Linked DNA regions of Homo sapiens: region 2 is linked to region 1. The links are contacts of gene promoters, found by promoter capture Hi-C in human tissues and cell types (Jung and others, 2019). All regions are on one chromosome and are shown on one strand. Each heading gives the region's core, a stretch centred on a gene start or on the middle of the fragment in contact. The rest is flanking DNA. Distances are from core to core; before and after follow the strand shown.

Region 1 (5,702 bases), core at 904-3,403:
CATGCAAAATAATCTTTTTTTTTTGTTAATTTCAGCAGTTAGTAGAGGTTTGCTTATTAGTAAAATGTTGACCATTTTGTTAAAATCACACTTGAGGAGCCAGTTGGCAGAACTTATTTTCTTTTCCTGAATTTTTTATTTTCACCCATATGCTCAACCAACAACGTAAAAACCCACCTCCATAGCTCCCTAGTGGTGATGACTCCTCAGATAAAGGCATTCTTCCATGATTCAATTTCATCTGTAAAGTAATGGCACTATGATGAATTATCCCATTCTCCCCTCAAAGTTGGTGGCCTGCCTTTGTTCAATCCTGCTTCTGTGATTGAAAGTTTATGCTCTAAAAGTAATCCCGAGAAATATATAAAAATGCATGACTTCCAAATACCCTGTGCTGTGCATATCATAGAAATTCAAAGAATCCCAAACTAAAAAGTAAATCATATATTCATATTTTTATCTTTCACAAATTGAAATACTCTCTAAAAATTTTTTCTACTAATTCTATATTGCAAATTATTTGAGTTAGGCAGTATGTCTTTCACTACTTTTTTTTTTTTTTTTTTTTTTTACAGACAGAGTCTCACTCTGTCACCCAGGCTGGAGTGCAGTGGCCGGATCTCAGCTCACTGCCACCTCCACCTCCCAGGTTCAAATGATTCTTGTGCCTCAGCCTCCCCAATAGCTGGGAATACAGGCGTGCACCACTACACCCACCTTGTTTTTTATTATTATTTTTAAGTAGAGACAAGGTTTTGTCATGTTGGCCAGGCTGGTCTCAAACTCCTGGTCTCATGTGATCCACCCGCCTCGGCCTCCAAAGCGCTAGGGTTACAGGCTTGAGCCATCTTGCCCGGCTGTCTTTCACTGCTTTTATACTGCAAACAGTTTTCACAACAGAGATGCTCAGTTGCTCCACACCCAGTCCTTCAGGGGAGTTATGCTTGCATATGAGCTCAAGGAACATCAAAATCGTTTTTTGAAACAAGAGCATCCTGGAAGATGAAGCAAGCTGCACCTCTGCCTTCATTAGTGAAAATGCCCTGTGCCAATATCTTTATGTCAAATGAATAAAAAGTACTCTTGGCCGGGCGCTGTGGCTCACGCCTGTAATCCCAGCACTTTGGGAGGGAGGCCGAGACGGGCGTATCACGAGGTCAGGAGATCGAGACTATCCTGGCTAACACGGGGAACCCCGTCTCTACTGAAAATACAAAAAATTAGCCGGGCGCAGTGGCGGGCGCCTGTAGTCCCAGCTACTCGGGAGGCTGAGGCAGGAGAATGGCGTGAACCCGGGAGGCGGAGCTTGCCGTGAGCCGAGATCGCGCCACTGCAGTCCAGCCTCGGCGACTGAGCGAGACTCCGTCTCAAAAAAAAAAAAAAAAAAAAAGTACTCTTATGTGACCAGGAGTGCAATCCCCGGTTCACTTCCTGCAGTGGCTCAGGGCTGGATTTACACTGCCCTCGTTGGGTGGCTGTCCATGGACTTCCAGGCCTGAAAGAAGGAAATTCACATCCTCACTGAGTCGTGTTAAGAGTCTCAGACTGGCAGGTTGTGGTGGTTAAGACCGTAGAAGCTAGAGTCAGGCCCCCTGGGTTCCAACCCTGCTCTGCCACGTACCAGACAGGCAAACCTGAGCAACCATTTTCCCGTGCTAGGGTTTCCTCGCCTGTCGAGTGAGAATAATAATAATAACAATACCTACCTCCTAGGGTTGCTGTGAGAAATAAATGACAATCCACAGAAAGCGCCTGCAACGGCGCCTGGCTGGCAAACAGCGGACTTGTTAATTACAGCCTTTCAACTAAGGGCGCCTGAAACTCGCAAACATTTTGCTCGGGTGTGGATTCGCTCCCGTTAGTTACAAACTTGGGATCCCGGGACCCGGAAAGCAAGGGGGAAAAATAAATCGCGATGGGGCCAAGGGACAGCTGCTGCGGCAACTTTTACCCAGCGGAGCCCACCTACAGCCTCAGCCTCCGGGTCTCAGGTCTCCGCCGTTTCTTCTCAAGGAGTCGGTCGGGGGAGCGGCACTGCACAGCTTTTCTCCAATCAGACACCTCAAGGCTGGCGCCTGATCCAATCTCCTCCCCTGGAGGGTGGGAACGCGAAGTTCCTACCTGCACCTGTGGCAGCGGTGACCGCCTCCTGGGTTATTTTCTTTTCTCCCCCAGCTGCCCCAGGGTTCTGGTTTCCCGAATCACTTGGCAAATAACCAGCAGGTGGGCAGATGTCTTTTTTGCGTTCCTACGGACGCGTAGGCAAGTTCGATGCGCCGGAGTGAACAGCCAGGGTCCCATCTCTCAGCCGGCTCCCGGGCGGTGCTAGCAGGGAAGAGGGACGCGCCGGCGAATGAAACACTACTAGCCCGGAAAGCCGCCCTGGACCTTCCACCCGGGCAGCGAGTCTGGCGGCCCCTCGCCGCCGCCCCCTCCGACCAGAACAGACTGCGCTGCGAGCCCCGGGCTTCCGCCGCAGCGCGCAGCAATTGGAGGTGCCAGAGGAGACCAGCAGCAGCACTTGATTTAGCTGGGCTGCGGGAATTCCGACCTGTACACTTTCCAGAAGCCTGATCTCTCCAAGTCCGCGCCCAGGGACTCGAGCCCCGGCTTCCAGGTTGACCCGAGCGCGCCCCCTTCGTGCTCTCGGCCGCGTTCACCGCGCGAGGCCTCCGGGTCCTGTTAAGCCCGAGCAGGTGAGCGACTGGGGGTGGTTCGGCGTCCGCCGAGACAGAGCCTGGCCCCGGGGGTCACCCTGGGGTGCTGCCTGGTACCTCCCAGGTACCCGCCTCCCGGAGCCCTAAGAGAGGCTGAAAACCACGGACGCTCCAGGACTCCGTTTTCTGTACTTTTGAGTAATTTGCCATCTTTTCCTTGCGCAATTCGTACAAAGCCCTTCCGTGCTCACAAAGTTGATGATTGTGAAGAAGAAAATGTAGGTTAGAGGAGAGGAAGCAGCATCAGGACACCTTACCACCACTGTTAGTAAATGACTTGGGGGTACGGGTTGCTTTTCCGATCTGCAAAGTAGGAGGGAATGGGATGTTTGCAGACGCAGTTGCTAATTGTGCCTGAGGGCGTGGGTGCCTTTTGTACCGAAAGAACTTTTGGCCGTTTTTTCTTGTATTGTTTTCAAGTCGCTGCCCGAGTGTGTCCTCAGGGCATCCTGGGGAGGAGCCGGTGTTGCGGTTTCGGGGCGCAGCCGAGGCCGCCCCGCCGCCTCCCGTAGGCGATCAGACTTCCTCTCCCTGGCGGTTCCGGGAGGAGAACCTCCTACAACAAACACCGCCGAAGTTTCCCTCTCCAGCGCGATCGCCAATCCCAGGAGCGCCCGGCGCGTGGGCTGGGAAGGAGCCGAGCGGAAACCTGGAAGTGAGCCGCGGCGCAGGCGAATCCTGCCGTTGCTGGTGGCAGCGCCCAAGAGACCCCGCACAGAAAGTGGGCTGGGAGTCTCGCTTGCTGTACCCGCACCTAAGTGCTCAGAAGCGGCCTTTCGCTCTGCAGAGGGGGGGTCTTAGAAGCTTGGGGAAGAAGCACATTGTTTCGGAGTTCCTTGTTGCGTTCTTTCTCCTTGGGAGGAGGGAATTGCACAAGGAAAAGAAGAGAAGCCTTTACTTTGTAACTGAAATTCTCCAGAGTTGAGTTGCGTCGTACAGACTCGGTGCATATTTTAATACAAAACTAAGGGAAGAGGCCATTTGATACTTGGCTTCATCTCAACCGTCAGCCGGGGGTGACTTCAAACAGACGCAAGATTGGGCTCTGGGGAGTAAAAGGAAGAATTAGGATGGCGGTTTTCAAGGGAAGTTAAGTCTAGACATGCTTCTTTGAAAGTCACAAGGCAGAAGTGGTCAAAAGTAGAATTTAAAAGAACCAAAACAAATATCATAAGCTTGTCCTTCTCTCCTACTGGGATATAAATTCTCCTAAGTATCTCATCGAAAAGGCTCCTGGGACGAAAGTCGATGGGGGCAAATCTTGGAGGGAAATTTCGTGACTGTTTGACCATGGACTAATTAATACCGTTCACCTGTAGAGAGGATGCACTTGGTTCCCAGCGCCCTCCTCCCAGGTGCTTATCCAAAGGGAGGCCGCCCTGGGTCGGATGGGTCACCTTTTGGCGTCCATCTACAGTCAAGCAGTGTGGACAGGGCGGTCATTTTCCCTCTAGAGACGGGTTGATTCAGAGGGGTGGGAACGTCCCTTGGGTCCCCCGGGCACGCTGACCACTGCACTGCACTTCCCCTGAAGGAAAGGCAAAGGTTGAAGCCAAAGAGTTCAAGGCTCAGCCTAGAGACCAGGTGATGGTGCCCTGGAAGACACTTCCGCCAGCACCCTATGGGGCGCAGTGGCGTCTAATGCTAATGTGGGCTACGTAGCTACGGGATTGGGTCGCTCCGACCCTGGCCGATCCGGTGCCAGACAGCATAAGGGAGGAAAGGGGACTGGGGGGGGCACGTGACTTCAACCAACCCAGTAACCAAGTTTTGTTTTCTTCCCCAGCACAGGCCGCTGCCTCAGCATCCACCCCGCAGCCCACGTGTGGCAAGCCGGGGAAGGGGTGGAGTGAACGGCCGGAGACCACGTGGAGAAAGGGGCCGCTTTGGCCCTTCCATCTGGGTGCCGGGAGCCCCTAGGCCCTCCGGCCATGGCCGACAGCGGCGATGCTGGCAGCTCCGGCCCCTGGTGGAAATCGCTCACCAACAGCAGAAAGAAAAGCAAGGAAGCCGCAGTGGGGGTGCCGCCTCCCGCCCAGCCCGCTCCCGGGGAGCCCACGCCACCTGCGCCGCCCAGCCCGGACTGGACCAGCAGCTCCCGGGAGAACCAGCACCCCAATCTCCTCGGGGGCGCCGGCGAGCCCCCCAAACCAGACAAGTTATACGGGGACAAATCCGGCAGCAGCCGCCGCAATTTGAAGATCTCGCGCTCCGGCCGCTTTAAGGAGAAGAGGAAAGTGCGCGCCACGCTGCTCCCGGAGGCGGGCAGGTCCCCGGAGGAGGCAGGCTTTCCTGGTGACCCCCACGAGGACAAGCAGTAGCCCCAATAGCCTGCGCGCTCCAGGACTGCCTACCCAGCACTACCCCAAACCCCCAGTTCCAAACCCGAGACTTCAGGCCCGCCCCCTTACGCGTTGTCTCATTCCACCAAATTCAGAATATTTACACAATGCCTTCATGATTTTATTTTTCTGGAAATTGAAGTGTCAATTGGGTTCTCAATATTTCATGACTCCAAGGATGCATTAAATATTTATTTGTGGTAAGAGAAGATACCTGCCGCGGAGGAGGGTGGCATAATTATTTTTTTTTCAAAAAGCTATTCTGGGGCCCTGGCCCCCTGGCTCCTGTCACAGCTCAGCTTGAACTCTGTAGCCTCTCAAATGAAGAAGGTGGCTGTTATTTAGGACTCTGTGGAAAGCAAATCACAGTGCTGTTTTTAATGCCTGAGAAATGCACTTTAGGGGTAGACTTATACCTTAAGTGAAGGAGTGGGGGAGGAAGAAGCATTCTTAAGTAGAAGCATTTTAAAATAAGGCAGGATTGCTTTTAATGTTAAACTACAAAACTGTACAGCCTATTTTAGTGTGGACTATTAAAACCCTTGCACTGTAAGGCTTAAGGTGACTTTTGTATTTTTTCCATTCCAAGACTGAATCCCATCATACTTAAAAGCAGGCAGGCAAAGTCCGAGGTGAGAGTTAA
Region 2 (5,702 bases), core at 1,451-3,950, 450 kb before region 1:
AAGGAGCTGGAGGGAATGGAACAGAGGAAAGGATGATTCAATCAATCTATCTCTCCCAAGACCAGCACCACACAGGGTCCACAGACTGCTCTCAAATGATTCAGATGTTCACTCATCCCTCCCTTCCTGAGGATGCCAAAGTAGCTTCTCTACTACCTTTTACTTGAGTATGTTTCAGACCTTCCCTCCTAGGTCAGGAGGTTGGAAAGTGGGGAATTTGTGTTATTTAACTTTGCATACCTTGGGACTCGGCATGCTGACTTACACACCTAAGACATTCAATAAATACTTTTTAATGAATGAATGTTAACAAATGAATGGATGAACAAGTCAATAAATGAATGAACTAAAACAAGCCCTACTGACAAGGCACCAAGATTGGCTTATTTCTACAAAAACCTCCTAAGGCAGACCTTGCTAAAAGATCTTAAGAAATTTAGAACTTTTCTCTAGCCCATAAAAAAAGTTTTGCCCTGTTTCAAATTTTAAATTTCCACTAACTAAATCCCAGTAAAATAATTTAAAATGTCATCAACTAAAATGACTTTTTATATTTTCAAATGTCCTGTGCATCCTTCTATTAATGGAATGTGGAAAACAAACTCCCAAGATGGAGGAGTTTCTATCTTTCCAGCACCATGACTCACAATACAAATGTTTAGAACAGTTTTAAAAAGGAAAAGGTTTTCTTTGAAGTGATTTTACTTCCTCCTTGTTTTTTACTGCTGCAACCAATGTTTGTGATATTAACACTTTCAAAAACATTGGAATGTGACCAACAAAGGGCTTGAACCAGCTAATCAGCATGCATGCCAGATTCACAAACACTCAAGTTATCACCAGTGTGGACAGACATTATCAGATCATAAGTAACAATAAATTAGGACCTACCAGTAAAATAGTCTTTAAAGTGTGAAAATGCAGTGTTTATAAACAAGCTAAAATGTGCCTCCTACTTCATTTTGTTTCAGGGAGTAAAGATTTATTCTAGCTTCAGAGAAAGTAAACATGCAATTACAATTACATAAAACTAAGCCAGCTAAATGAGGATTTAAAAATTAAAAATTTCCCTTGTTTTTTTGCGAGCTACTGTTTATCTCGAAAATGTTCCATTGCAATAATAAGACTCACGTTCCTAGGGTTTTGACAGACTCGATAAACAAAAGGGATTTAGGGGAGTGAGCTGACCATCTGTCCAGAGCTTCCTGAACTTTCAGCAAAGCGGATGAATAAAATTATCCTTAATTATGTTGTCAGGGCTACATTTGAATACCCAGATGTACCAGATTTTGAATCAGCCACTTAAAATTCTGTTCAAAGAATTTGACTGTGTAACATAACTTCAGGAAGTGATATTATACACAGATTTAATATTTTAAATGTTGTCAATCATCAGATGAAGATCTACCAATCTTGACATGGGAGGGTGGAAGATAAAACTACCTCCCTTGGAATCTTTCTTGGCTGCTGCTAATACCCATAACTGAGAAATGCTCATAGGCAAGAAAGACAAGAACAGGAGAGATGTCAGTAGTCTCTCAGATGGATTTCTCTGTATTCTTTTTACTTGGTTCCACCAGATGTATGATACAGAAACACCATGGTCACTTTCACTTAATGCCTTTGTTTAAGCTGTTTCTCTCATTTGGTACGCACAGACCTTTCGCTATTTACGTAAATCTTACCCGACACTCTGAAGTCCAGAGCTGGTCATACAGCATAGTGGTTCATATCATGGGCTCTGGGGTTGGCCAGTATAGGGTTTAATTCAGAGCTGCTCATATAGCATAGTGGTTCATACCATGGGCCCTGGGGTTGGCCAGTATAGGTTTTAATTCAAGCTCTGCCACTTACTAGTTTTATGGCCCTAGGCAAGATATTTGATTTCTCCGGGCCTCAGTGTTCTCATTTGTAAAATGGGAACAATGCTTATGGATTCTTCATTAGGGTTGCTCTGAGAACTACATGAGCTAATGGATGTAAAGCACAATGCCTGGCACATGGTTGGTACCCAAATTTAAATTCCATACATATTTATACATACCTATTATGTATAGGTACTATGCTAGGTACTAGGGATATAATGACTAAATGTTAGCTACTTATTATTTTTACAACTACGACAGCTCTAGTATTTTCTCCCTCGATTATGCCAACCGACAGGGATAGGTTCCTCCTCCGAATCTCCAGTGCACTTACTTTAAATGTAATACTTTAGTACTTTAGTATGCACTGCCTAATTCCTTAATTGTTTTGTGTGTATGCATCTGGTCACTTTAGAAGAACACTTTAGAAGCTTCTGAAACAAACAGAACTAAATTATAGTAGGCAAATCACAGAGCAGAAGTCAGAAGATTTGGGTCCTAAACCCATCTCTGCTACCCAACTCTACTGCACACATCCCGTTGGGCAACTCGGATAAAGTATTTCAGTCTCAATTTCCTCATATGTGGATTGGTAGAATTTGGTTATAACAATTACTTAACTCCTTTTCATCCCTACATTAAATGGTTTGCTTTGATTTACTGTTAATGAACAGAAATCTAAGCCATCAGAATCCACTTGTTAAGGAAGCTGAAATACGTGCATGTAATCCAATTTGGAGGGTTTAACGACACTTTGCCTCTTCACAAGCATCTTAATGGTATCAGCCCATATGGTGGGGCAGCCATCTTCCCAAGACTTCTCTTGTGAGGTAAAAATCAGTCCTTTTTAAAATACACTAAATACATTATCAAAGTTTTTCATCTTTCCTTAGAAAAGAGATGGTGAAACTTGAAGCCAATGTGTATTTCAGAAAAAGACATATGAACAGCACTTACACATACCCTTAAAATACAAGAATGTCTTCGTGTAAAACGAAAACCAAAAAACAATGACATCCTATTGGCTGTGAGAACACTTTGAACGAATAAAACTTGCTTTATTTTAAACTTCTTTATAGAGTATTTAGATTTGCTTTTGATCTTTAAAATGACCATTTGTCTAAAATTTCCGGTGTTCTTCTTCATTCCCATCACATCTGCCAACCTGCCAGCTTCACAGGCACCATCTCTGCCTTCCCACCTGTGACAAGGGACAACCTTGGGGCCCCTGTGTGCCAGATCCCTGTCTCTCACCTTCTTAAACACAGTCTCCAACAATGGTTCCCCAAACCAAACCAATTCCCCACTCATCATTTCCATCAGCAAACAAACATTCTCTCCTATTCTGTTAAAGACCCTTCCTGGACCCCAGTGCTCCCTCCAGCCACTACCCCATTTTTCTGCTGCTCTTTGCAAACAGCTCCTCAGAATAGCTACCTGTCTACTGTTTTATAGCTTAGGAACCTACTGAAGTCCAGAAAGTTGAAATCATTTACTCGCACAGTGATTAAGCGCAAAGAAGCATTAAGAGCAGATACAGGGCCGGGGGCAGTGGCTCACGCCTATAATCCCAGCACTTTGGGAGGCCAAGGCAGGCAGATGACTTGAGGTCAGGAGTTTGAGACAAGCTTGGCCAACAAGGCAAAATCCCATCTCTACTAAAAATATAAAAATTAGCCGGGCGTGGTAGCACATGCCTGTAGTTCCAGCTACTCAGGAGGCTGAGGCAGGAGAATCGCTTGAACGCAGGAGGTGCAGAGCGCAGTGAGCCGAGGCTGCACCACTGCACTCCAGCCTGGCAACAGAGCAAGATTCTGTCTCAAAAAAAAAAAAAAAAAAAAAAAAGAGCAGATGCAGGTCATAAATTTTAGCCTCTGATAACACTAAGTGATACCTTTTTTCCTATTGGTAATAACAATAGAAAAACCCACAATCTCTAAATAAAGCCAATTGCAAACACTCATATTTGGAGAACAACTTATAGAGTACAAAAGATTTTCACGTGCCTTATCTCATTGGATTTTCATAACATCTCTGTAAGTTGGGTAAGTTGTTAAAGCTCCATCTTATCTTAATGAGAAAACTAAGGCCCAGACTTGCTGGATAACGGGGCACAGCAGGGAGGCTGCAGTGAGGCTGAGTATGAAGCCTACACACCAGCTGATATCTGCATGAACTCTGGCTAGTAGCTCAATCTCTTTCTGCCTTGGTTTCACATGTGTAAAATGGGTCCACCTCCCCGGGATGTTGAGATGTTTAAATAAGTTCATGCAGAAAGCTTGGAACCAGTGATTGACTCATAGTAAGTTTTAAGGATAGTATTAGCATTAAGTGACCACTGGGGGACAGGCACTCTACTAGTCTTATAAATAAAATGCTGCAACTCAACCATGCAGGTAATTCAACCCCGGCTAATTCTCATTTTAGCTAAAAACTCAGACAACATATGACATCAAGTCATTAATATTTGACATAGGCTGGGTGCGGTGGCTCATGCCTATAATCCCAGCACTTTTGAAGGCTGAGGAGGGTGGATCACCAAAGGTTAGGAGTTCAAAACTAGCCTGGCCAACATGGTGAAACCCCATCTCTACTAAAAATACAAAAATTAGCTAGGCATGGTGGTGGGCACCTGTAATCCCAGCTACTCAGGAGGCTGAGGCAGGAGAATCACTTGAGCCCAGGAGGCAGAGGTTGCAGTAAGCAGAGATTGCGCCACCGCACTCCAGCCTGGGCAACAGAGCAAGACTCTGTCTCAAACAAACAAACAAACAAACAAACAAAATATATATATATATATTTGAAATAAAACAACTGAGTAAAAATACTGAAATATATTTTGCATCCTATGGGTTACTTGTTTTAAGAAAAACTATTGGCCAGGTGCAGTGGCTCACAGCTGTAATCCCAGCACTTTGGGAGGCCGAGGTGGGTGAATCTCGAGGTCAAGAGATCGAGACCATCCTGGCCAACATGGTGAAACCCCTCTCTACTAAAAATACAAAAATTATCTGGGCATGGTGGCTTGTGCCTATAATCCCAGCTACTTGGGAGGCTGAGGCAGGAGAATTGCTTGAACCCGGGAGGCGGAGGTTGCAGTGAGCTGAGATCGCGCCACTGACCTCCAGCCTAGTGACAGGCGAGACTTCGTCTCAAAAAAAAAAAAAAAAAAAAGAGAAACTGTTGAACTCATGCCAGTGGTTTTCTGATTTAATTAAACTTACTTACCTTTTTGGATCTTCCCAGCTTCAATGTAAGGGGTGAGAAATAATGGCTGTCCTGAGTCTCCCTTAGGTGGCATGGAAACACTTCTGTATAGGGAGCGAAACAGCCCATCACAGGGGCCAGGCATCAACAGGACCAGCGAAACAATCACCTTCCACATGGCACCAACCATCTCTCAGGGTCTAGGATAAAAACAGCATTCCAAAAATGAATCATAAGAGTAAATATTTACCTGGCCCTTTTACATGCAAGAAATTCATTTATTCACTTAAAAAAAATATTGTGTGTAAAGGCCCTCTGCAAGGACCTTGGATAGCACCATAAATAAGCACACCCAATCCCTGCTTACTCTTAAATTCAAAGGCTAATGGGAGACTCTTCAAGGGATTTACAGTGTCAGTAATTTTTCAATTACTGATTTTTTTTTTTTAAACAGAGTCTTGCTCTGTTGCTCAAGCTAGAGTACAGTAGCACAGTCACGTCTCACTGTTGCCTTGACCTCCTGAGCTCAAGCAATCCTCCCACCTCAGCCTCCCAAAGTGCTGGGATTATAGGAGTGAACCACTGACATTTTTTAAAATGCAGTTTGGAAAGTAAATTCAATGGAGGATT

The links. The method cuts DNA at HindIII sites, captures the fragments that hold promoters and counts their contacts. A contact is called where the count stands out against the background at its distance.
Region 2: a fragment that was not itself captured here is called in contact with the fragment with the promoter of PRR15 in region 1 in 1 of the 25 tissues and cell types used here (pancreas).

What each region holds. Positions count from the first base shown.
Region 1 is chr7:29,561,682-29,567,383 of GRCh38, forward strand. It overlaps PRR15 (proline rich 15), which reads left to right and starts at 2,154. Exons shown (of 2, transcript NM_175887.3): 1 at 2,154-2,696; 2 at 4,504-5,612. The coding sequence starts at 4,649. The coding sequence ends at 5,038. PRR15-DT (PRR15 divergent transcript) reads right to left here and starts at 2,010. Exons shown (of 2, transcript NR_183550.1): 1 at 1,707-2,010. RefSeq lists an enhancer at 3,777-4,640. The HindIII fragment of the contact is 8,966 bases long and covers 1-3,706 here.
Region 2 is chr7:29,115,800-29,121,501 of GRCh38, forward strand. It overlaps CPVL (carboxypeptidase vitellogenic like), which reads right to left. Exons shown (of 13, transcript NM_031311.5): 2 at 5,094-5,272. The coding sequence starts at 5,262. Among named protein-coding and RNA genes, the nearest start is that of CPVL, 28 kb to the right of the region's middle. The HindIII fragment of the contact is 4,908 bases long and covers 247-5,154 here.